Linked DNA regions of Homo sapiens: regions 1, 2, 3, 4, 5 and 6 are each linked to region 7. The links are contacts of gene promoters, found by promoter capture Hi-C in blood cells and fetal thymus (Javierre and others, 2016). All regions are on one chromosome and are shown on one strand. The core of a region is centred on a gene start or on the middle of the fragment in contact, and the rest is flanking DNA. Distances in the headings are between cores, read along the strand shown. Region 1 overlaps SUPT7L (SPT7 like, STAGA complex subunit gamma). Region 2 overlaps AGBL5 (AGBL carboxypeptidase 5). Region 3 overlaps TMEM214 (transmembrane protein 214). Region 4 has its middle 3.3 kb from the start of EMILIN1. Region 5 overlaps KHK (ketohexokinase). Region 6 overlaps MAPRE3 (microtubule associated protein RP/EB family member 3). Region 7 holds the start of EIF2B4 (eukaryotic translation initiation factor 2B subunit delta).

Region 1 (3,398 bases), core at 238-2,737, 290 kb after region 7:
CAACCTCCAGGTTAGATGGGAAGCGTTCGCTCTGAGCCCCAAGCACTCCCATAGGCAGTGACTGGTCTCCAGAAGCAAGGTCAGCCTCCAGCTCCTCACTGACAGGAAAAGTGATGTCGCTCACAGGTTCCTCCTTGATCTTCACAGGTTTAGCGTCCTCTGTGGCCTTCTCAGGATTGACAATCCTTTCATATTCTTCAGAGAGTTGCTTACTAATCTGTTGGCAAGCAAGAGTCAATTTTCCAAGGAAATGTTAAAAGCAAGTTGGATAGTCAGCTTGTGACGTCCCATGGAAAAGCCAACAGAACATGAATAACAGAATTTTAAAACATTCACTGCCAATGGGAGGGATTTGTTTAAGGTGCTGAGTTTGCATTTATGAGTGATAGAGATATGTAAAGAAAATTGGTTTGGCAGAGAATGTGTATGTCATTAATTAAAAGTTACATAAAGGTAAAAAAATGTGTTAGAACTGGGACAAAAGATTACATTTTTTTGGCTATAAAAATTAACAGTAGGCTGGGCACGGTCATTCACACCTGTCATCCCAGTACTTTGGGAGGCCAAGGTGGGAGGACAACTTGAGCCTCGGAGTCTGAGACCAGCTTGGGCAGTATCTAGTGAGACCCCATCTCTACCAAAAAAAAAAAAAAGCTGGGCATGGTGGTTCACATCTGTGGTCTCAGCTACTTGGAAGGCTGAGGTGGAAGGATCGCTTGTAGTGAGCTGTGATTGTGCCACTGCACTCCAGCCCAGGCAACCCTGTCTAAAAAAAGGGAAAAAAAAGTTGACATATGTATCCTAGGTGAATAATCAATGGTGTGGGAAATCTGGATCACTTAGCAAAGACTTTTTTCTTGGGTGTTAAAAATTCCTAATCATATTTTAGACCTGCAGAAACTGAAACAGTGAACAAATGACTTAAGAGCACAAGGGCTGAAGAGATTAGATATTTCTGGTTCCAAGCAAAATCATCACCCCCCACCAACCCATCCTCCAGGCAATATCATTTTACTCTGTTTTTTTCATAGCACTTAACATTATCCAAAATTGTATTTTTTTGTGTATGTGCTTAGAGACAGGGTCTTGCTATGTTGCCCAGGCTGGTCTTAAACTTCTGGCCTCAAACAATCCTCCCACCTCAGCCTCCCAAGCAGCTATATTAGATATATATATTACAATTCCAGTCAAACCATTATATTAGCTGCTTGAGAGGCTGAGGCAGGAGGATTGTCAGTAGGTCTGTGTTCTCTTTTTTTTTTTTTCAGACAGGGTCTTGCTCTGTCACCCAGGTTGGAGTGCAATGGCACAATCATGGCTCACAGCAGCCTTAACTTCCTGGTCTCAAGTGACCTTCCCACCTCACACTCCCAAGTAGCTGAGACCACAGGCATGAGCTACCATGTCCAGCTAATTTTTATTTTTTAATTTTCTGTAGAGATGGGGTCTCACTATATTGTCCAGGCTGGTCTTGAACTCCTGGCCTCAAGCAATCCTCCCACCTCAGCTTCCCAAGTAGCTGGGATTACAGGCATGTGCCATCATGCCCAGCTCCTGAAATTGTTTTGATTGTTATTTATTGACTTGTGTTTGTCTCCCTTCAAAAACAATGTAAACTCAGGTAACTTAGTAACTGCTGAATCCCACAATGCTCGACTCTCAACAGGCACTCAATAAATACTTGTTGAATAAAATCAGACTAACTGCATTCTCTCAGATTCCATATACTTGTGGATAGTTTCTTCCAGAGGAAGTATCAGTGAATGTGGCCATTCACTGACTAAAGGAGACCCATGGTATTTGGCCAGGAACATCGCTAGGGCCATCATAAAAGTATGTTAAGTTCACTCTGTTCCAAGACTCTGTGCTCTGCACTCTAGACCAAGTGTTGTGGGATCCTGCTGAACACTCCGAGATTGCACAGACATCTGTGCCCACTTTTCAACAGGGTCGCCTCACCTGTAGCATGTAACTGTGATAGTCCTTGATGCGGTGCTGCCAGAACTTCTGGAGGGAGAGCACACTGCCAATACCCACTTCATGGAATACCTGCTCCATCACATCAGGAAAAGGAGTCTGTCCCAGCCGGGCCTCCCGGTCCACAGCAAAACGCAGCAACTTGGTAAACTTAAGGCAATACTCATGTGCCACATCAGTTAGGGTCTCCAGGACACTCTCATTAGCACAGTCAAAGCCCGCGTGGGCCAGGATTGTGGCCACTGCCTGGTAGAGGAGCTGCCGACAGGAGTGCCAGCTGAGTTCAGTCACAGGTTCCCCTTTCCCACTGAAAGTGGAGATACGGTGGTGTTATTAATGTTCTTGCAAAGGGGTGACCCCTCCTGTCTTCCCCAGGAGTTTTACAATTCCAGTCAAGCCACTGGCCTAGCTTTCCAGGGAAATTCCATCCAAGTTACATAGCTCAGTTTCATCCTGCTGCTATCTGGGCATGTCTTAGCAACCCATGGTCATATCTTTGAGCTCCTCCAAAGACATAGTTTGAATAGGCAATACATGTCTATAATACACAATCCAAAAGGATATCTAGTGAAAAGAAAGTTTCCTTCTAGCAACTGTTCAATTTTGATCACTTTTAGGATTAAGTTTAACAGTATAGCCCAGACACTGCTCAATGATGCTCTAATTATTTTACCATAACCTAGTTTTCATACATGCTGGGCAATATATTAATACAAACTTTTAGAAATTCACAGTTCCAATAAAGAGATTCTTCACAGTTCCCAGGAGTTTAAGATTCTTAGATTCTTATAAAGTTACAAGGGACCATTTCAAAACAGGGAAGTCAACTCAATTTTATAAAAGCAATTTAAAACATATATAGCTTACAAAGCATTTTCATCCTATCCTGTGTTGTGCAATGGGTAGGGTCTGTATTATTATTATTTCTATTTGCCAGGAGAGGAAACAGGTTTAGAAGGGCTGACTTGCCAAAATTTGTTTACATATAATTAGTAAGTGGTAAAGCTTCTGACTCCAGAAACCGTATCCTGCATAATACACCATTTTGCCCCTAATCACTACTGCAGAAATCTTAATTTTCCAAGAAAAAAATTAAGAAAGCTATTTGATCTAAAAATAACTTAAGAAGCTTTTAATAATTTACCTGTCTCTTGAAATTTCCTACTGGCTTCTGCCTACCCCTGACAAAGGAATTTATTTTACCAATAAAAATAAAATAGAGCACAGAAAATCATTTTTCCTTGGTTCGTACTTGGCATGTGTCATCACGCACTGTACAAAAGTGCCTGAGTGGTTATCCACCCACTAAACTCTGACCTGTTCAATAGCAACTATTGCAGTTTACATAATAGTTTGACAATAAGATAACTAATTGCCAAGTAACTTTTCATTTACTATCTTCATCATTTCCATGGCCAGTG
Region 2 (3,448 bases), core at 397-2,896, 310 kb before region 7:
TAGTGATGAGAGCACCCAGGTGGGAATCCTAAGAATGTCATGTGAGTGTGAGAAGTGTTACAGGTTAGGAGATGGGGTTAGGCCATGAACAGAAGGAAGATAGCCTTAGGTAGCTTTCTGGAAGGAAGGCCTGTGTAGACTACCTCTGAAAAAGCTTTGAAGGGCCAAGAAGAGATGGCACAGGGGGATAATGTCTCAATTGTTACATCATGACCTTTTATTAAGGAAAGCTAACTGCATTATAGTCTGCTAGAGTCTGGGAATCCAGAGAAGGAAAATTTTGCATTGTTGGAGGGAGGAAGCTAAAAGCTTAAAAAAAAAAGAATTGCTTCCCAACACCTAGAAGTAATGTCAAACTGAGAATTCAGGCAGCACTGATTACTGTTAATGGTTGTGATGGTATCTGCTGTGTATTAAGTCACATGGTCACATACTTGCTATCTCTTCCTTGCACCTTGTCCCTTCTGTCTCTCCTTCTGAGTTGACTTTTCTTCCCCAAACAGGTGGAAAACATGCTATATCCAAAGCTCATCTCCTTGAATTCAGCCCACTTCGACTTCCAGGGCTGCAATTTCTCAGAGAAGAATATGTATGCCCGAGACCGTAGAGATGGCCAGTCTAAAGAGGGAAGCGGCCGTGTTGCAATCTACAAAGCCTCAGGGATAATCCACAGGTTGGGTGGAAGCTGAGATATAGTTGATGAAATAGCTTCCCTAAAGAAAACACCGTAGCTGGGTGTGGTGGTGCATGCTTGTAATCCCAGCTACTGAGGAGGCTGAGGCAGGAGAATCGCTTGAACCTGGGAGGCAGAGGTTGTGGCGAGCCGAGATCGTGCCATTGCACTCCAGCCTGGGCAACAAGAGCGAAACTCCGTCTCAAAAAAAAAACAAAAAACAACACCCAGTTCAGGGTGTTTGAGAGGGAGGGAACCACCTTAGTCTTCTTAAAAGAGAACCTCACAATTAGCATTATTGTCTTTAGTCTAGGACTCTACCTTGGGGGGACTCTCTGGGTATATGGTACAGTACCAAGGTCAGCTGCTAGTTGCTATGGATTATTAGCACTTTCATTTGTGTTCACTTTTTTCCAAGTGATTGCCTCCTTTGACCACCTAAGTTGTCCTCTATGGTTCTGTCCTGGTATCTGTTCAGGCGGGACACTGATAAAGGTCTTTATGTCTTAGCTACACACTTGAATGCAACTACAACACTGGACGCTCAGTAAACAGCATCCCTGCTGCCTGCCATGACAATGGGCGTGCCAGCCCCCCTCCCCCGCCGGCTTTCCCCTCCAGATACACTGTGGAACTATTTGAGCAGGTATGAATACATGGTGTAAGTGGGAAAAGGGAGAAACCTTACAGTCTGGAAAGGCCTTCACTCTTAGTGCCTGACTCTAAGGTCCTTTGAAGAGATATTCATCACTATGGCCGTCTCACCACTATGATTATTTTCCTCAGTTAACAGGAGCATAACTACAACTGTAATAGTATTGAAAGGATGAACAGGCACTATATCTGACCCCACATCACAGAGAATCCCCTAGCACCTCTGAGTCAGATTCTTTGCCTCTGGGCTTGTCTTTCTCATTCTATTGGATTTATTAGTTTCTGGGCTCAAAAGCACCCTGACTGTAGTGGTCTTGATGATTCCCATTATCCTAATAGAAAGAGCTGGCCAGGTGCGGTGGCTCATGCCTATAATCCCAGCACTTTGGGAGGCCAAGGCAGGCGGATCACCTGAGGTCAGGAGTTCAAGACCAGCCTGGCCAATATGGTGAAACCCCATCTCTACTAAAAATACAAAAATTAACTGGGCATAGTGGCACATGCCTATAGTCCCAGCTGCTCAGGAGGCTGAGGCAGGAGAATCACTTGAACCCGGGAGGCAGAGGTTGCAGTCAGCCGAGATCACACGCCACTGTACTACAGCCTGGGCAATAGATCAAGATGCCGTCTCAAAAAAAAAAAAAAGTAGATCTGTAGGTTACAGAAGGGATTCAAACCCCTTTCCTGCTAGGAGAATTCCTTCATGGCACCAGCCAGAAAGAAAGGACACACTTTGCCCCTCATAATGGAAGAGGGCCCCCAAATTGGCGGTAGTTTAGGGAACAGCTCCAAATCCGTTTGCAATAAACAGCCTGGGCACAAAGGTTAGGGCATCCAATGAGCAAATTATAGGTCTGGCCCCTCCTTCCCTTCCACTGTGCTGTGTACCCACCCCAAGGTAGCAGCCTGGATGGGAGGACCAGCATGCTGAGCCAAACTGGACTACCCCACAGGTGGGACGAGCTATGGCCATTGCAGCCCTGGACATGGCGGAATGTAATCCGTGGCCCCGAATTGTACTGTCAGAGCACAGCAGCCTTACTAATCTACGGGCCTGGATGCTGAAACATGTACGCAACAGCCGAGGCCTAAGCAGCACTCTGAATGTGGGTGTCAACAAGAAGAGGGGCCTTCGAACTCCACCCAAAAGTCACAAGTAAGGCCAGCAAAATAGGAGGGAGAAAGGGTAGGACAGTGGGACAGGGCTCTAGAGCTAGGAGTTCCAAGGGATTTATATTCCTTCCATCCTCCTCAAAGTGCCAAATGGCAAATATCTTCAGGGTAAATTAAAATTAGTCAGATTAGTTTATTCTTTTAGAATGGGATCCTCTTCCCTTTTATTCTGAGCTACATACACCTAAGAGATCTGAGTATCAGGCTTGGGATTCACTGCTGCAGAGCCCTGTACAAAATCAAATATAATTGCAGTGGGGCAGGCCTCAGCTTCCAAGGGTTGTGAATGACTGACTGAAGGGAGTTCAAGGGTCAGTGCCAAGGCAGTAGGGGTGAAATTCATTGGGAGATAAAGCTGCTCAGGGATGGCCCTTAAGACATTTTGAGATTAGCTGGTATTCCCCAGGTTAGATACTTCATCCACGGACATGAATTCCTCACTTCTTCCTTGGGATGGGTCCCTGTGCCTTTTTACCCCAGAGGTGAAGCTTTACTGAGCAGCAGATCCTAGGGAAAGCCTTAGGACACAACCTTCCTGGCCCGGGTTAACTGGCATCTGCTTCTTTGCAGTGGGTTGCCTGTCTCCTGCTCCGAAAACACCTTGAGTCGGGCACGAAGTTTTAGCACCGGCACAAGTGCCGGTGGTAGCAGCAGCAGCCAACAAAATTCTCCACAGATGAAGAATTCCCCCAGCTTTCCTTTTCATGGCAGTCGGCCTGCAGGGCTGCCAGGCCTGGGCTCTAGTACCCAAAAGGTCACCCACCGGGTGCTGGGCCCCGTCAGAGGTAAGCCAGTCTGGGAGCCCCTGCAACATGTGTTCGGTTGTCTGGGGCATTGCTGGGGGAAGTAAGAGCTTGAAGATATACTGTTGGCCCAGGACCAAGGGGTGAATCAATAAAATTAGTTTGTAGCAGAACCTGTGGCCTCTCCTACGACCTTGGTGTTCCC
Region 3 (3,279 bases), core at 367-2,866, 330 kb before region 7:
TTAGAGTCTCCCTCTGTCGCCCAGGCTGGTGTGCAGTGGTGTGATCTCAGCTCACTGCAACCTCTGTCTCCTGCCTCAGCCTCCCAAGCAGCTGGGATTACAGGCGTCTGCCACCACGCCTGGCTAATTTTTGTATTTTTAGTAGAGATGGGGTTTCACTACGTTGGCCAGGCTGGTCTTGAACTCCTGACCTCAGGTGATCCGCCCACCTTGGCCTCCCAAAGTGCTGGGATTACAGGCGTGAGCCACCGCGCCTGGCCCTCTGTTTTCCTCTTGAACATGTGGAGGGCCTGAGAGGATAGGGCCTGAGATCAGCATTTTCAGCTGTCCTGTTCCATTCTTAAAGATGTAGGTACAGCAGAATTGCAGCATTCCATGTTCTTATGCTTAAAAATGGAATCCCTTCTTCCTACTGCCACCTAGTTCAACCATTTTCCCACCCCTACCCCATTTCTTTACTCCCTCACTCACAACTCGCCATGGTGGGGGGTTGGGGGATTGTCCCTGGCAGCTGGATGTGGCAGACCTGCAGAAGGAACTGGACAAGAGCCAGAGTGTGTTCTCTGGAAACCCATCCATATGGTTGAAGGACCTGGCCAGCTATCTCAACTACAAGCTACAAGCTCCTCTAAGTGAACCCACGCTGAGCCAGCATACTCATGGTAAGTCCTTCCAGCTTCCTCAAGCTCAGACAAGTTCAAATAAATTCAAAAAGGGTGGTATAACAGATCCCAGTGCCCCACACTGTCCTGATTTCCATGGGTGATTTGGGCTGGTCTCAAATCATCGTGACTGTGAATGTTTCTGGGCCTCATTCTGTGATCCTCCCTCTGGGCCTCCTCAGAGGAAGGATCCCAGCCTCAGTGCAGGGGCCTTTGCCTCCACTCACCATTCCCAGGGAGAGCACCACAGTTCTCAGAGCTGATGGGTGTCTGGTCCTAGCACTCACATTGAGGCCTATGGGCCTTAGATTATCCCTACAGCCTGGTGAGCCGGGAGCTACGTGGGATCATCCGAGGGCTGCTGGCGAAGGCAGCAGGGTCTCTGGAGCTCTTTTTTGACCACTGTCTGTTCACCATGTTGCAAGAGCTGGATAAGACACCAGGTGAAAGGGGCACGGGAGGGATGACCATCTTGGGAGCCTCCTCCTTTTTTTCCTGCTTCCAGTACCACTCAGTGGTTCTGTTTCCAGCAGAGAAATGTGCTAACCTTAACACTTTTTGGAAAGTGTGGAGGAAGTTAGGAGTCAGTGGACCTGGGGCCTGGGCTCACCGCTGACAAATGGGAGATTTCAGGTTTGGGATGCCAAATAATGTGAGTAGGTGTGAGAATGTGTATCTCTCCAGGGGAGTCACTACATGGTTACCGCATCTGTATCCAGGCCATCCTGCAAGACAAGCCCAAGATTGCCACGGCAAACCTAGGCAAGGTGAGCTCTCAGTGATGGTGGGGATGCTAGGAAGCTAGGACTGGGGAGGCTGGGCAGAATCTATGTTGTTGGACTCAGGTTTGGGATAGTGGAAGACCTGTAAGCCTAGTAATAATGGGTAACACTATTAGCACCTATCCTGTGTGTGTGCTCTGGAAACATAGGAGCAAGGTACTGCTATTATTTCCCATTTTTATAGATGAAAAGATTGAGCCACAGAGGAGTTCAGTAACTTTCCTAGGCTCAGTCATCCAGTAAATGGCAGAGTATGGGCGAAGCCCACAAACAGAACCTGCACCACGTGGCCATAGTGCTCCACTCTTGCTCGGCCTGTCCTCCCTCTTCCAGTTGACATCTCCCTTCCCTCCTGGCTTTGGGGGGTGCTCCTGGTGTTTTGTCCTATCCCAATCTGCCTTCCCCACCGGTCTCCTCAGTTCCTGGAACTGCTGAGGTCCCACCAGAGCCGACCAGCAAAGTGTCTCACCATCATGTGGGCCCTGGGTCAAGCAGGTTTTGCCAACCTCACCGAGGGACTGAAAGGTAACAGGGAAATAGGGAAGAAAGAGGGAGGGTCTCGGAGCTGGAAAACTCCTCTTTGATGCCCCCAGTAGGTGCAAGCCTGAGGCCTCCCTCGTGACTTTTACCCCTGCAGTGTGGCTGGGGATCATGCTGCCTGTGCTGGGCATCAAGTCTCTGTCTCCCTTTGCCATCACATACCTGGATCGGCTGCTCCTGTGAGTAATGGGAGGGCAGCAAGGGGAAGGCTCAGGGTGTCCCAAGTGGCTGTTATAGCAAAATGGGAGGCTATGATCTTGGTCTCCATGGATATGAGGAAAATCAGGACCAGCTTCTCCCACCACCTTAGAATGTGATGGTGAGGAAGGAAGAAGAGGGAGCTATTAAGGGCTGGCAGATGGGGTAGAGTTTATACCCTTTTTCCTAGATGTTGGCTTAGCTGGGGTCATGGCCAAAACAGCTGGCATGGGTGGTGGTGTCCAGCGAGCCTGTTTCTTCATCCCCACAGGATGCATCCCAACCTTACCAAGGGCTTCGGCATGATTGGCCCCAAGGACTTCTTCCCACTTCTGGACTTTGCCTATATGCCGAACAACTCCCTGACACCCAGGTAGGACTGCTCTGGGGCACACCTGCTGAGAAGGGACCACAGCACCAGAACCACACTACATATTCCCGTCTCTCCTTCCCCAGCCATCCTAGATCTGAGATTTGCAACCTGGAAGTTCAAGAGTAGGTTTCAAGGGAACAGTGACCCCTTGAAATTATATGGACCCTTGAGTGTGATTGGCATATGGGCATTTTCTTAGGGATAGGGTCCATGGCTTTCAACAGATTTCCAAGGAGTCTCTGAGTAAAAAGATTCAGAGCCATTGCAAGGTCCTCAGTGGCTATTCCCCACAGGCAGGCATGGGCTCTGAAGCAAGCAAAAGGTTCATATCATACAGCTCCACTTATAGCTTATGCCTGTCTTTCCTCCCCACCCCACCCAGCCTGCAGGAGCAGCTGTGTCAGCTCTACCCCCGACTGAAAGTGCTGGCATTTGGAGCAAAGCCGGATTCCACCCTGCATACCTACTTCCCTTCTTTCCTGTCCAGAGCCACCCCTAGCTGTCCCCCTGAGATGAAGAAAGAGGTGAGGATATGGTGGGAGGCTTTTTCTCCTTCCCCAGGGGTCAGCTGTAGCGGTCCCTATCTGCTGACAAAGGCCTTGCCTTCACAGAGCCCATTCTGAGGCTTTTCCTTAGCTCCCTGTTGACAGCTGCCTGCCCCGCTCACTCGAGCTTCACCCTCAGAAGATGGATCCCAAGAGACAGCACATTCAGGTCTGGGTGG
Region 4 (3,354 bases), core at 753-3,252, 290 kb before region 7:
GAAGGAAACTGAGGCCCAGAAGGTAAAATTTCACCAAGTTTCTAGAAACTGGTGAAAGAGCAGTGTCACCTCTTCCTCCTACCTCCACTCCATGTTCCAGGTCAAACTGTGGACTCAGTAGGTTGTCCTAGGGTTAGGCACAAGAAGGAAAGGATTTATTTTAGGACCACCCAGAAATTCATTCACCTCACAGAACTTCCTGTGCCTAGGTCAGTGGGTCTTTATCAGCTTTGGATGGGTCATTTGGCCCAGTGCCTGGAAGAACTGAAACAAAAAACAGTCTATGAGACTGAACTAGACTTAACTAAGAACTGACAAATCTCGAACCAAGCTTGGATAAAAAAACTACGTGGGAAGTGAGACAGGCACAGCCTCATCCTGGGGGGATTTGGGAGGATGTGGAGGGAAATGACTGGGGGGCACTTGTGGAGCTCAATCTCTGTGATTAGTGTGACATTTTCAAGGAAAGGACATGAGGCCAGGATTAGGCTCAGGAGTGAGAAAGCAACAAGACCTGGGAGAAGGGGAACTGGGTTCAGGGAGGTCGGCTACTAAAGTATTAAACCTGGAGGAAGAGCTGAAAGGAAAAGTAAAGTGCATCTCTTTGGAGAAAAGTGGGCTTTTGCTCAAGACTCCCCACAAACTTGAAGTCCCATGTGGATTGGCATGACCCAAGGCCCAAATCACTTTTTTTTTTTTTTTTTTGAGATGAGTCTCACTCTATCACCCAGTCTGGAGTGCAGTGATGCGATCTCAGCTCATTGTAACCTCTGCCTCTCAGGTTCAAGTGATTCTCCTGCCTCAGCCTCCTGGGTAGCTGGGATTACAGGAGTGTGCCACCACACCCGGGTAATTTTTGTATTTTTAGTAGAAACAGGATTTCACCATGCTGGCCAGGCTGGTCTCCAACTCCTGACCTCAAGTGATCCGCCTGCCTCGGCCTCCAAAAGTGCTGGGATTACAGGCGTGAGCCACTGTGCCAGGCCCCAAATCATATTATTCCCCCTTTTTCCCTCCCAATATTCAGTCCTCTGACAGAGAGGCTAGACATAAAATGCTCCTTATTGCTGGTGCCCACGGCTGTCCTGACCCTGGTCATGAACTCTTGCTCAGTCAGTGAAGCTGAATGAATGAGTTCATTGCCATGTAGGGCCAATTGGCACTAGATGCTTGGAAATTACCCACCTTGGAGAGGTTGTAAAATAGATCATGTCCTAGTGCCACCAGCAACTTAGCTTTCTGGGGGGTCAGGAACTCTTACCAATTGCTTTGGAAATTTATGGCTGCCTGCCAGTACCACCACCAGCATGTCACTGCCACCATCACCACTACCACTGCACTCTAACTTTAGGCTCCATTGCACCCTGCTTGCCCACTCAAGCCAGCAAGGGGAAGCATCCTCCCTGGTGAACTCAGAGCCACTGATATGTTTGTGATTTCACAAACATTCATGACAGCTCCTAGGTCTCGTCTCCTAATTACATAAAGGCAAATGAAATGCAACCTACTGCAACTATATTTCAAAGCCAACATTTTTCACTGGATACACTTAAATTATACAATAGATTTTTGAATTTCAGAGGGTAGGAGAGGGAATGGGTAACAATTGGGCAGTGACAAGATGGCTGGGGTGACTTTTCAGGTTGCCAGAGGCTTCCTAAGGGTGAAGAGAGGGAGAAGAGCAGAGAGAGAAAACCCATAGCAGCAGCTGGGGCAATCTGGAGGGGAAGTGGGTTGGCTTCCTGCCAGGGCCAGAGCCAGAGCCTAGAGACCAGGGACAAAGCTGCAACCTTCCACCGAAAACTTCTTTGAAATCGGGATCTCCTGTGAACATTTCCTTCAAATCTCCCTGTGTGCTGATCCCCAGGGCTCTAAGGGGCAACTACAAATTTCCATTTCTGTTTGTTCCAGCATTTACTTTCACCAACCACCACCCCCCTTTTTTTTTTCTGAATCAGTCTCACTCTGTTGCACAGGCTAGAGTGCAGTGGCGTGATCTTGGCTCACTGCAGCCTCCGCCTCCTGGGCTCAAGTGATTTTCGTGCCTCAGCCTCCTGAGTAGCTGGGATTACAGGCACACACCACCACACTGGCTAATTCTTGTATTTTTAGTAGAGACAGGCTTTCGCCATGTTGGCCAGGATGGTCTCGAACTCTTGACCTTATGGGATCCACCCACCACGGCCTCCCAAAGTGCTGGGATTACAGGCATGAGCCATCGTGCCTGGCCTAATTTTTGTATTTTTAGTAGAGATGGGGTTTCACCATTTGGCCGGGCTGGTCTCAAACTCCTGACCTCAAGTGCTCTTCCCACCTCAGCCACCCAAAGTGCTAGGATTACAGGCGTGAGGCACCACACCCCGCCTGACCCTGTCTTTTCACAAACATTTCTCTTAGCCATCAAGGTCACATTCTGGGTCATAGGACATCAGAGGCAAGATGGTTCAGAGTTACATTGATGATTTGATGGCATTCATTCTCATGGCTTCCACCTATTGCCCTGCACATGTTGGAAGAATCAGTGGCCCACCATTGCTAACAATCCTAGACACTGGTTTCCACTAGGATGTGTTACTCTCATCTTAAATTCAGTATCTTCAAACTACGATCACTTTTCTTTCCTCCAAACCTGCTCTCTTCCCGACTTCCCCATCCTGGCTCAAATGCTGGAATCTTCCCTCGTGTCTCCCTTCATCTGGTCCCTCATTACTCAGGCAGTCACCAAGCCTCATTACTCAGGCAGTCACAAAGTTCCCTGCCTATCCATGGTCACTGTCACCACCAGAGCCCAAGTCTGCATCACTTTGCAATGTAGAATTTGGAAGGGACTTTAGATGACACATAGACTCCCAGTGGTGTCATGGGATTTGCTGGGTCATAGTGACAGGAGGAGCTGGGGCTACATTGCCTGTGTTCTGACACCGTATTCAGCGCTCTCACCCACAATACCTTCTTTCGTGTATGTGTATATGCTTCTACTCAAAAACTTGCAATACAACCTCATAACCAGTCATTTGAGCCTCTCCCTAATTTGTCCACAATCTACCTCTCTGAATTTCGGTCCCATTTTTTCCTGACACAAAAAAAAGAGCTAACATTGATTGAGCATTTACCATTTGCCAGACACTGTTCTAGAATGCTTTACATGCACTGACTTACTTAATCCTCACAAAGTGGGATGGAGAGTCCTGTTATTCCTGTGTTACAGCTGAGGAGACTGAGGCAGACCGCTCTTCCTGAGCCTGAAATCTCTCTCCTTGCCTTGTCTCTGTTCTTGACTCCTGCCCCCCACCCCCGCCCCCACCCCAATGCTGTTCAGCTTTTGTCTTTTCCAGCCTCTCCTCTGACTGTCTC
Region 5 (3,214 bases), core at 668-3,167, 280 kb before region 7:
TTTGCTGTCCTGTCTTACTCGTTTGATTTTATAGCTCTGCAGTTTCTATTGAAGTAGACACTCCTAACACAGGGGTAGGTGTAAATGTGATACCTTTGGGAAGAGGCACTTAGTCCCCGAGGTCCTTGGAGTTGCTCCAGCTCTCAAGGAGGAGGCCAAAGGTGCAGCGTCTGGAGCAGCTCTGACTGGGGTGAAAGGTGAGGAGGAGATGACCTGGAGTTAGTGGGTCTCTCGAATAGTGATGGACCCAAGTGAGTGGTTTCCTGTTGCCCTAGGAACAGATGGAAATATTGAAAGGAACTGCTGTCAGCTTGAATTTAGCCTGGGCTGGGGAGGTAGACACCGCTCTCAGCCAAGCTCCTTCCCTTGGCCGGCCTCGGCTGCCCCGGGTACAAAGTGAGACGTCGGCCTAGATGCTTTCTGAGAGGAGTCCCCAGCTGTTACATTCTGTAGGCCCCTATACAGGAGACTGTGCTTGGGATCAGCCTGCTGGGGCTGCAGGGACCCTCCCTGTGCTTTGCAGGTGTTTGTCCCAGAGATGGCAGCGCGGAGGCAACGCGTCCAACTCCTGCACCGTTCTCTCCCTGCTCGGAGCCCCCTGTGCCTTCATGGGCTCAATGGCTCCTGGCCATGTTGCTGAGTAAGTCCAGGAGGGAGAGCCCACTGGGGAAGGCCTGCCTGCATCATTGTGGGAGAAGAAGGATGTATCCACCCTGGGTGGATGGGGGATTAGAAATGGGTTGTGTCCAGCAGAAACGCGGGGAGGGGGCATGGCGGAGCACCAGACGCCCAGCCCTGCCTTGGCGTGGCCTCTCTGCGGTTCGGGGGCTGATGCTGCCCCTGTGAAGCTTTCCTTGCCACAGCTTGTTTCCTGGACACTTCTGGAGCCTGCTTCAGCCTCTTCCTTTCTCCTTCCTTGCTTCCTGCAGACTCTGCGGTGGATGTGCCTTTGCCTTATCTTAAGTCCCTTATCCTGGCCATGCTTGAGGCAGAAGGCAGTTAGGGACACGTGGTACCCATCCTCCCCCAGGTCCAGGCCCACAGTTTCTGTCCCAGTTGAGAGGCAGGGCTGGTGCTCATGTCCCTGTTGTTCACTGAAGCAGTGAGAGTACCCTGTTCAAGGACACCCTGAAGCCACATGCTAAAGCTGGGCTCAGAACCCACACCTCCCAGTTCCCCGGCTGTCAGGGCTATAGCCCTAAATGGCTCATGCACGCCCTCCATGTTGGCTGCTGCAGGGACCTCAGAGCCCTTTGACCCCTGGCGCTGCCGACTCAGCAAGCACTTATCGGGAGGTGAGGCCCACACTTTGCACACTGTGGGCACGGGGGCAGGCTGCCAGGTTGCTGGCCTGTGAAGGGCAGCCCTTTGAACCCTGGTTTGAAGGGGGCTGCTGGCAGAGTCCAACCACCTGAGCTACAGCCAAACTCCCTGCCTTGATGAACTGGCAGGAAGAGAATAGAGGGAGAGAATCTGCCCTGTGAGATGGGACAGGACGGCTCAGAACCAAGGGCTGGTGACTCATTAAACCTCTTTAATAGCTCCTTTCCTCTGAGCTAGAGGCAGGACTGTGGCTCTGGCTTAGGATGGTCGACTCTCCTTTACATAGCAATCAGGCCAATGGGTGGTTTATTCAGAATTCTCCCCATGTGCTCGACAAACATTTAGAGAGCACCTACCATGTCCCAGGCACTGGGGTGCGAAAGTTATTTGGCAAACCAAACCATATTTCCAATGCTTTGGGAAAGTTACTATTTAAAGGAGTTGTAAGTCAAGGGATGATGCCCTGACTTGGTATCTTTATGCAAATCTGTATTATCCAGCTTTGGTGTTGCTGAAAGCGGGCTCTGGCCAGGTGAGAAAAGCCAGGATGGTGGCTGGACTGCTGGGCATAATTGCCAGTTCTTGAGCACAGAACAATGCCTGTCCATAGAGGGCTGGAAGGGCTGGGGCTGACCTCCTTGTCCTTGCCCCTGGGCTCACTCTGCATGGAGGGCATTCCAGGAGAGAGTTCTGGACCAGGCCCATACTGAGTGGCATCAGGCACGGGGAGCCAGCTGATTGCCCAGGAGGGTTCACCTGGCTGCAGGAGGACAAAGCAGTGAGCTGGCTCACCAAGGCAGCACCACTTCCAGGCTGGGCCTCCTGGAGGCAGGCAGAGAGTGAGAGGAATCACAGCATTAGGACTGGGAGGGACTGAGAGAGGACAGCACCCTGGATGAGCTTGTGGAGGACAGCTGGGGGCAAAGTATTGCCTTGGAGATTAATTATTAATCCTGTTTGGGCATTGCAGGAAACAAGCCACGGTGCCCCCACATGCTTGGTTCAAACAGTGTACAGGTTCTAGGGTCCTGTCTAGCTTTATGAACAGGAGCAAATCCTTTCCAGCATGAGTTGGACTGAAAAACAGAGTCAGGATCGGAGCATGCTTCAGCCAAGACCTAAAAGGATGGCCCTTAGTGTTTCTCTCTCTGAGCTCCAGGCTCTGCACTCCTGCATCTCCTGCCCTGTTGCACTGCCTGTGGCAAGACTGTGATTCCCAGTTCTCTCCCAGCCCCCTTTGCTTGCACCCCTGCCTTTCAGGGTCCCTAGTGGCCCTGCCAGCTACCCTCCAGTCCCCAAAACCCTTGTCGAACTGCACCCCCTTCGGGTTACTCCGCCCTAGCAGTTTTGTCCTGGATGACCTCCGCCGCTATTCTGTGGACCTACGCTACACAGTCTTTCAGACCACAGGCTCCGTCCCCATCGCCACGGTCATCATCAACGAGGCCAGTGGTAGCCGCACCATCCTATACTATGACAGGTTTGTACAACTGTCTGTGCCTTGCCAGCTGCTGCCGCCGCCACCAAAACTCCCAGAACAGGACTCTTCTTCTCTTAGAGGCTCGTGTGCTCCAGCACCCTCTCCCCACTCCTTTTGGAGGTCCAGACCACTTCCAGGCTCTAATCTGTGTCTCCTTGCCCTTTTCCTGGCCCGGCCTCCACCCTAAGCTTCCTGGTGGCCGACTTCAGGCGGCGGGGCGTGGACGTGTCTCAGGTGGCCTGGCAGAGCAAGGGGGACACCCCCAGCTCCTGCTGCATCATCAACAACTCCAATGGCAACCGTACCATTGTGCTCCATGACACGTAAGGCCCCCGGGCCTCGCCCTGCTACAACCCACCAATCAGTTGGCTCAATCAGTTCCCTCACTCGCCACCATGGGCATCCCAACTG
Region 6 (3,223 bases), core at 654-3,153, 400 kb before region 7:
CCCTAGTTTTAAACATAGAGATGAAGTTCAGGAAAACTATAGCCCCCATCCAGCAGGGCAGTTTCTTCTGTTTCGAATGCCAGACTGGGGTTTGGTGGGATGCACCTGCCTGTGGTGCAGTGGGAACTGTGGGGCCTGAGAGTGGCATTCCTTCTGTGTGGTCCTGTGTCACATAGCTCACCAAAATACCCGAGCAGGGCAGGAGCAGACAGCTGTACTGGAGAGCTGCTCCTCCTGGGCTGAGTGTATTTTGGGAATCAGCGATATTACTGGGGTGGAGGGTTGTGAATTAAGGAGGAAGAAAATGTGTCAAGGCTAGATAGATCAGGAGGGTGTAAGTAAAATGTTCCTTTCCAGTTTGCTATGGGATAGTACATTTTCAGAGGATCAGAGTAGTTTTTATATGGATTAATTTGCCTTTGAAATCCATACCAGTGTTTTATGAGATAATGATGGAATGCCTTTTAAACTGCTACTATGAGGAAACAGGACTAATACTTGTCTTATACATTGCCTATCCAGCTGTTGCTGAATGTAATTGTTAAGATCAAGGAGAGGGACATGATTTGAACCAAGTTAGACCTAAATCTATGTAATGGTATTGAGGTTTTGTAGGACTGTATTCTTGATTCTAAGACACACCAGCAATTTACCAATAGCTTTTAGGTAAAATAATCTAATGCTACCAGATCAAAATATATATGCTGATTCCAAGGTGCATCCTCATTTTAGAAACATTAAAACCCTCGGGAAATGGCAAGACTTGAGGGAGGGATTTGTGAATCTTGGAACTGAGAAAGAATGCTATTGATAGTATTCCTGTGTGATGATGCCGTTTCTGACCTACCGTCCTGAGAGTGCATGCATTGTGAAGCTGAGTTTCTTCTAGTCCTTCCTGCACGCCAGCACACATTGTGGGGTTGTATTTGTAAGATGACTGGCTGGAGTTAGGCATAGTAGGAGGCTATTGAACGGAGGAAAGTTCCCATATGAGAATCCAACCCAGGGTCTTAATGTGGTACTCTCCAGAAACTGAGCCAACTAACTGGCAGCAAACGTCTTATGAGCTATTCCTGAATTTAGCCGAGTAACATTTGTCAGAAGCCGAACAGAAAATATAGTTTTTTTTTTTTTTTTTTTGAGACGGAGTCTCGCTCTGTCGCCCAGGCCGGACTGCGGACTGCAGTGGCGCAATCTCGGCTCACTGCAAGCTCCGCTTCCCGGGGTTCACGCCATTCTCCTGCCTCAGCCTCCCGAGTAGCTGGGACTACAGGCGCCCGCCACCGCGCCCGGCTAATTTTTTGTATTTTTAGTAGAGACGGGGTTTCACCTTGTTAGCCAGGATGGTCTCCATCTCCTGACCTCATGATCCACCCGCCTCGGCCTCCCAAAGTGCTGGGACTACAGGCGTGAGCCACCGCGCCTGGCCAGAAAATATAGTTTTTTAAAACAGAATGCATCTGCCCTGATTTGCTTACAGATACATTTGTAAAGGTCCCAAGGCACATGTCTCCCTCGCTTAGGATGTTAGCACTGGAGGTGACCCCAGATGGTATAGTTTAATGCCCTCATTTCTAAAGTTGACACAAGACACCAAGAGTTAAATGACTTACCTAAGGTCACCCAACCCATGCAGAACGTATGTAAAAACACTTTGTAAACTGTGTACACTAGGCAGATGAATGTTGGTGGTTATTAGTGGCTGAGTCAGGATTAGATCTCCAGATTTCCAGACTAGAGTTATTCTTCAACACCACATTGCCTCATCCCTCATAATGTTCCAAAGGGTTTTAATAAAAATAATTTAGTAGTCCGTAATTAGCCCTGTAGGCAAGGGCTTGTTTTGTCATCTGAGATGCTGCACAGCCAGGCAAAATTTTGTGTCAAACTGTCTAACTAAATATTTATTCTTGCCACTTTAAAAATAATATTTTTTATCACACATTCTGACTTCAGGAAGGTCTTTCTTTTTTTAATTTGCATCAACTAACAGAAAAGCAAATGTGAAGTTGGGTATTTGAAGTCTTTTCTACTTCTTATCTGTGAGACTGCCGCATTCCAGAAAGCAAGGTGGAGAGGCAGATGGGGCTGAGAGGAGGAGCGTGCACATTGGGCAGCTGCGGGCTTATCTTCCACCTCTCAGAATGGAACCTTTTGTAGTTTCTGGGAGCCATAAGGACTTCTAAACCCTCTCCTTGGGAAGCGCGGAGGCAGCCTGACCTCTGGAAGCAGGCAGACTTGAGTTCAGATCCCCATCCAGCCATCTCCTGGCTGTGTGGCCTTGGGTGAGTTATGTTACCTCTGAATGCCAGTTTCCTCATTTATAACCCTGGAATAATAACTATCTGTTTTACAGGGTTGTTGTGAAGATTAAATGAAAGGGAGTATGTAGAGTGCTTGCTTCATAAGAAATAGCAATGATTATTTTATATTGACTAAAGCATAAAATAGCAAATAATGGTTTCAAAATTGTTTCGTGATTTAGGTCCATCTTGGACTCTCAGTTTTGTAGCCCCCATCTCTCAGCACCCCTCTCGGTATTTGACACGAACAGAGAAAAGGTTTGTACCGGGAAGACCCGGCACTTGCATTATTATTTCAACTGCCAAAACCGGAGTATATGAAATGTATCTTTGCTCCATGTATTCAGCCAACCTGAAAGACTGGCAGGACAGGAGCATTTGACTTTAGGAGGCACAGATGTGGTGTGCTTGGGTGTGTGGTGGGGGTGGCTAGTTCTCCAGCAGGGAGGCCAGTCTGGGGAGTGGTCTTCATTTGAAATAGAAAAGCTGCTGAGCTCTTGCTTGTGAGGGACACACATGTGGTCTTTATTGACTTCCTCAACTGGTAGAGGCATAGATTTCATCGGTGACTTTGCTAAAATCAGCTTCTGCATCCGTGAGATCCAGGGGGCAAGGGAAAGGAGCTATTCATCTTAAGAGGGAAACCTTGCCAGTGAGCAGAGGTAAAGGGAGGTCATTTTGGATGGAGAGAATTACAGACTGGCTCAAGGCAGAAACTACTGAGTAATTAAAGAACCAGGGCAAGCTGTTCAGGTGCAAGAGCAAAAGTGAATTTAAATTCCTAGATAAATTTCAGTAGGGAAGGAAATACCCATGTATAGACATCTAAAGATTGAAAAGAAACGCAATAATGTTTACCTCTGGGAGGTGGGATTTGGGTGTGGGGAAGGGAAAAGGAGACTCAAAGGGGAACTTTTACT
Region 7 (3,558 bases), core at 718-3,217:
CCTCATAAACTGGGTCAGAGAGTTTTGTCTGCTGTACTGGGGTAGGTGAGAGAAGAGACTGACTTTGGATCCATAATCCTTTCGTGTAGGAACCTTGACAAAACAAGGGAACAGGACCAATGGCCCAGAGTTTAAAAAGGATGGGATAAAGCTGGAAAGGAAGTGAACAGTAAGACTACTCTGACCCAAGCACCTATCCTTCTCACTTTGCACCCAGCACCTTTCCTCCCTCCAGTCCATTTCCCTAGGCTCTTTCTAGCCAGGCACCAAACCCACTTCCTACCTGTTGACGCTCTGGTTTTTTAACAAGCCTTCTCAGAAGTAGGTCATCAACCTGAGGGTACTCAGGGAGACGCTTCACTCCTGAAAGATAATCATCATGTTTTCAGGACACTGTAGGTCTTGAAATGTGTAATTTGCTCTTAGGGTATAAGGGGCATCAAGAAAAACAGGATGAGGTGGAGAAAACGGGAGAATAGGGTAGAAAAGGAAATAGGGATAGGATAATGGGGTTGCAGGAACAATTCAGAACTCTGGGTCCCAAGAATGAGAGGGGAGAGCTGTTTTACTATTGGGCAGCCTGAGCTGGCGTTATAATTAGGAGTAAGGGAGGTCTTAAAATGAAGGGAAGATACCTGAGGGGGTTTCTCCAGCTGTGCTGGGGCTGGCCTTAGGAGGTGGTCCTCCTTGTTCCCCTTTTCTTGCCTGTTTCAGGGCCCGCTCGGCCTCCTGCTTGGCTCGACGCTCAGCCCGAAGTTCGGCCTTACTCCGACCAGCTGGAACTTTCTCCCGAGGAGTGCCCAACTGAATGCCCGATTCTGGCAGTTCTCTGGTTGGGCCTACTAAAAGCATTAAAAAAAAAAATGCCCAAGCTGCAGGCAGGTGATATCCGTGCCCCAGCTAAAACTAGCTTCTCTCCTTGTAAACCTCTTTGCTTTACACACTTGCTCAAATCAACTTTGTCCTGTCTCTCCCTTATCTCTCCCACCACATCCCTCTACCAGCTCCACACCCCAGCCCTTTAAAAGAGACCCCTCACTCACCTTGACATTGGGCTGCAGATACAGCAGAGCCAGTCTCTGGTTCTGCCCCCTTTTCTTCCTTCCGTTTCTTCTTCTGCTGTTTCTTTTCCTTCCGAAGCTGCAGCTTTTCTTCTTTGGTCATTTCCCTCCCCACTGCCTGAGACACAGACATAGGATACTGCTCTTCCCCAACAATTCCAAAGGGGAACAAATACTATTGGATGCTTACAAGATTTCCACATGGTTAAATCCCTAGTTCTTCCTAACTTCCACAAGCTACCTGTTGCAAGCTTACATCCACAGAGGCTGACGTTTCTCCTCCAGGGACAGAATCATATATCCCTAGGGTTGCAAGACCTCTGTAAAATCTCCTGGCTTTACTGAGAAATAAACCGACACGGGATGGGAGCTGGGGCGGAATAAAGCTGGCACAGCCTCCTGCGTAGCGCTTGGCAGGCGGCTTGGGAGGGAAGCCTCACTTACCCCAGGCCCAGGGGGAAGCTCCGCCTTCATCCCGGATCCCGAGTCTGCATCAGAAAACAGGGCACAAAGTGAGCCAGAGAGACTCCGGGAGGGTTTGGGGGCACGAGTACTCGGCGCAGCCGGCTGCTGGGTTGGCATGACCACGGATCCGCCGGCAGGCGCGAGGCGAGCCAGGGATCCGCGTGGGGACGCACTGCGCGGCGGATCAAAGGAATGGAGGGGTCACCGACCCTCCTCACAGCAACCAGCCGGTGCGCGGCGCGGGACTGCGCTCGAGACTGTGTAGACCGGAGCCCAGCGTGGCGCTGGAACGGAGCGGCGGGGCCCAAAGGCGCTCAAGGCCCGGCACTAGCTGTCCGGAGCTCGTCGGCTCCGCGTACCAGTAGGCAGGCCCGGCTCTTCACTCACCCTCGCGAACAGCCACGGCCACAGCAGCCATCGCCCTCAGTCCTAGGCTCCGCCCGCCGTGGTCACGGAGCCGCCCCGCTGCCTCGCTCCGCGGCTGCAGGGTCCACAGCGCCACCTGGGCTGGAGGCTGAGCCGCAGAAGCGAAGCGCGCAGCCCCAATCGGACTACAATTTCCGACGGGCCCCGAGGCCCCGCCCCGCACTACGGGTTGCAATGAGGGCCAACTCCACTTTGGGCTCCCTATCCGGACAGGTGGCTCTTGCCCTTTAGACTACAGTTCCCAGCATGCCCAGGCGATTGCGTCCCAGAACCGACGTCCCACCGCCTTCCCACATCGGATCGCAGGGCTCCCAAAATGGCGAGTGAGGCTGCGGGGACTCGCTGAGCAGCGGAGGGGGAGCGTGCAGAGCCGCTGCGGCCCTCACAGTCCGGAGCCCGGCCGTGCCGTGCCGTAGGGAACATGCACTTTTCCATTCCCGAAACCGAGTCCCGCAGCGGGGACAGCGGCGGCTCCGCCTACGTGGTGAGGAGCGGCCGGAGCCGAGCCGGGCCGGGCAGGGGCGGGGATAACGGGCCCGAGCCATCTCGGAGCGGCCTCTGAGGCCTGACCGCCACCCTTCGGGCCTGGTCCTGGGCCGCCGACTCCCGACGGCCTCTCTGGGAGCTTATCTCATGTGTGTGATTCGTGCAGTGGTCGCCCGAGCTCCTGTAGGCCCTTAGGCCGGGTCGCTTCCCCGAGCTAGGCCGCAGCTGCCCTGGTGGGCGTCACTGGCCTCTTGGGCAGTGAGACTGCAACACAAGCGTCCGAATTTCCCCCGGACTGGCTCTTCAGCTTTGGGACTTGGCCCTGGCGAAAACAAGCGAACTATCCCTCGGGAGATTAGCGCGTTACTCCGGCGAGTTGCCAGGCAACTTCCGGCCAGGGTTCTCAGGGGGGTTGCGCAGACCGCAACCCTAAAATGCTTGACTACTTTTGTGTCCTCAGGCCTATAACATTCACGTGAATGGAGTCCTGCACTGTCGGGTGCGCTACAGCCAGCTCCTGGGGCTGCACGAGCAGGTGGGACTAGCACCCCTGCCTTGAGACAGCTTCAAGCCCTTCCCTACACGTGGACATCAGTGTCTCCCTTTACCCGCTCTTCTTGTTCCCGTAGGCTGTAGTTCCCCTTTAATCACTGCCACAGGGTAGGGCCCTGGTTTATCTTGTCTGACATTTCCGGGAACTCCCTAAGAAGCTTAATGTCCGCGCAACAACTGCTCCTTCCTGTTCTTATATTCTGGTTTTCTGTCCAGTCTTACTGCTCTAGTAGCCTTTACCCCTGCATGGACAAACCAACCCCTCCCCCCACTACCTCCACCCAGGCTGTCAAAGCACATTCCTTCTGTCATCTGAGCGGCAACTTGAAATTCTTTTCCCTGCTTATACAAACGATTCACCGATTTCCTTTTGTGTTCTTCGGCTCATTTCAGTGTGTTTAGCTGTGCCAATTATCGTTATGTATCTGTGATGCAATGTTTCTCCTCCTTCCTTACCAGATCTTAAACTCTATTTAACTCAGTAGAGCTCCACTGATAATTAGTTGTGCAACCCTGAACAAGTTACCTGATATCTTTTTTTGGGACGGAGTTTCTCTCTTGTTGCCCA

The links. Contacts are between HindIII fragments. The CHiCAGO score rates a contact against its expected background, and 5 or more counts as called.
Region 1: a fragment that was not itself captured here is called in contact with the fragment with the promoter of EIF2B4 in region 7 in 4 of 17 cell types (endothelial precursors, erythroblasts, megakaryocytes and 1 more); the score reaches 12.7 in endothelial precursors.
Region 2: a fragment that was not itself captured here is called in contact with the fragment with the promoter of EIF2B4 in region 7 in 4 of 17 cell types (naive B cells, total B cells, naive CD4 T cells and 1 more); the score reaches 7.9 in naive B cells.
Region 3: a fragment that was not itself captured here is called in contact with the fragment with the promoter of EIF2B4 in region 7 in 6 of 17 cell types (naive B cells, total B cells, total CD4 T cells and 3 more); the score reaches 8.5 in naive B cells.
Region 4: a contact is called between a fragment that was not itself captured here and the fragment with the promoter of EIF2B4 in region 7, in 12 of 17 cell types (total B cells, non-activated CD4 T cells, total CD8 T cells and 9 more). The highest score is 11.1, in total B cells.
Region 5: a contact is called between a fragment that was not itself captured here and the fragment with the promoter of EIF2B4 in region 7, in 8 of 17 cell types (megakaryocytes, naive CD4 T cells, endothelial precursors and 5 more). The highest score is 8.0, in megakaryocytes.
Region 6: a contact is called between a fragment that was not itself captured here and the fragment with the promoter of EIF2B4 in region 7, in 1 of 17 cell types (total B cells). The highest score is 6.3, in total B cells.

What each region holds. Positions count from the first base shown.
Region 1 is chr2:27,655,386-27,658,783 of GRCh38, forward strand. It overlaps SUPT7L (SPT7 like, STAGA complex subunit gamma), which reads right to left. Exons shown (of 6, transcript NM_014860.3): 4 at 1,960-2,284; 5 at 1-217. Among named protein-coding and RNA genes, the nearest start is that of SUPT7L, 6.5 kb to the right of the region's middle. The HindIII fragment of the contact is 2,985 bases long and covers 1-2,980 here.
Region 2 is chr2:27,056,120-27,059,567 of GRCh38, forward strand. It overlaps AGBL5 (AGBL carboxypeptidase 5), which reads left to right. Exons shown (of 15, transcript NM_021831.6): 7 at 1-19; 8 at 504-673; 9 at 1,184-1,319; 10 at 2,281-2,483; 11 at 3,071-3,285. Among named protein-coding and RNA genes, the nearest start is that of AGBL5, 6.2 kb to the left of the region's middle. The HindIII fragment of the contact is 2,679 bases long and covers 308-2,986 here.
Region 3 is chr2:27,034,624-27,037,902 of GRCh38, forward strand. TMEM214 (transmembrane protein 214) reads left to right here. Exons shown (of 17, transcript NM_017727.5): 3 at 512-662; 4 at 971-1,105; 5 at 1,347-1,429; 6 at 1,864-1,969; 7 at 2,082-2,163; 8 at 2,454-2,555; 9 at 2,938-3,079. Among named protein-coding and RNA genes, the nearest start is that of TMEM214, 3.3 kb to the left of the region's middle. The HindIII fragment of the contact is 4,998 bases long and covers 1-3,279 here.
Region 4 is chr2:27,073,678-27,077,031 of GRCh38, forward strand. No RefSeq gene overlaps it. Among named protein-coding and RNA genes, the nearest start is that of EMILIN1, 3.3 kb to the right of the region's middle. The HindIII fragment of the contact is 3,346 bases long and covers 330-3,354 here.
Region 5 is chr2:27,091,809-27,095,022 of GRCh38, forward strand. KHK (ketohexokinase) reads left to right here. Exons shown (of 8, transcript NM_006488.3): 2 at 524-640; 3 at 2,992-3,126. Among named protein-coding and RNA genes, the nearest start is that of KHK, 6.6 kb to the left of the region's middle. RefSeq lists enhancers at 801-1,386, 1,387-1,972. The HindIII fragment of the contact is 2,143 bases long and covers 847-2,989 here.
Region 6 is chr2:26,972,426-26,975,648 of GRCh38, forward strand. The region is part of intron 1 of MAPRE3 (microtubule associated protein RP/EB family member 3); the gene reads left to right. Among named protein-coding and RNA genes, the nearest start is that of MAPRE3, 3.4 kb to the left of the region's middle. The HindIII fragment of the contact is 5,007 bases long and covers 1-3,223 here.
Region 7 is chr2:27,368,371-27,371,928 of GRCh38, forward strand. EIF2B4 (eukaryotic translation initiation factor 2B subunit delta) reads right to left here and starts at 1,968. Exons shown (of 13, transcript NM_001034116.2): 1 at 1,914-1,968; 2 at 1,506-1,549; 3 at 1,044-1,179; 4 at 636-842; 5 at 284-363; 6 at 2-93. The coding sequence starts at 1,944. It overlaps SNX17 (sorting nexin 17), which reads left to right and starts at 2,246. Exons shown (of 15, transcript NM_014748.4): 1 at 2,246-2,436; 2 at 2,899-2,973. The coding sequence starts at 2,374. RefSeq lists enhancers at 1,214-2,175, 1,649-1,928, 2,149-2,238, 2,176-3,137, 2,259-2,318 and 1 more. The HindIII fragment of the contact is 1,836 bases long and covers 1,311-3,146 here.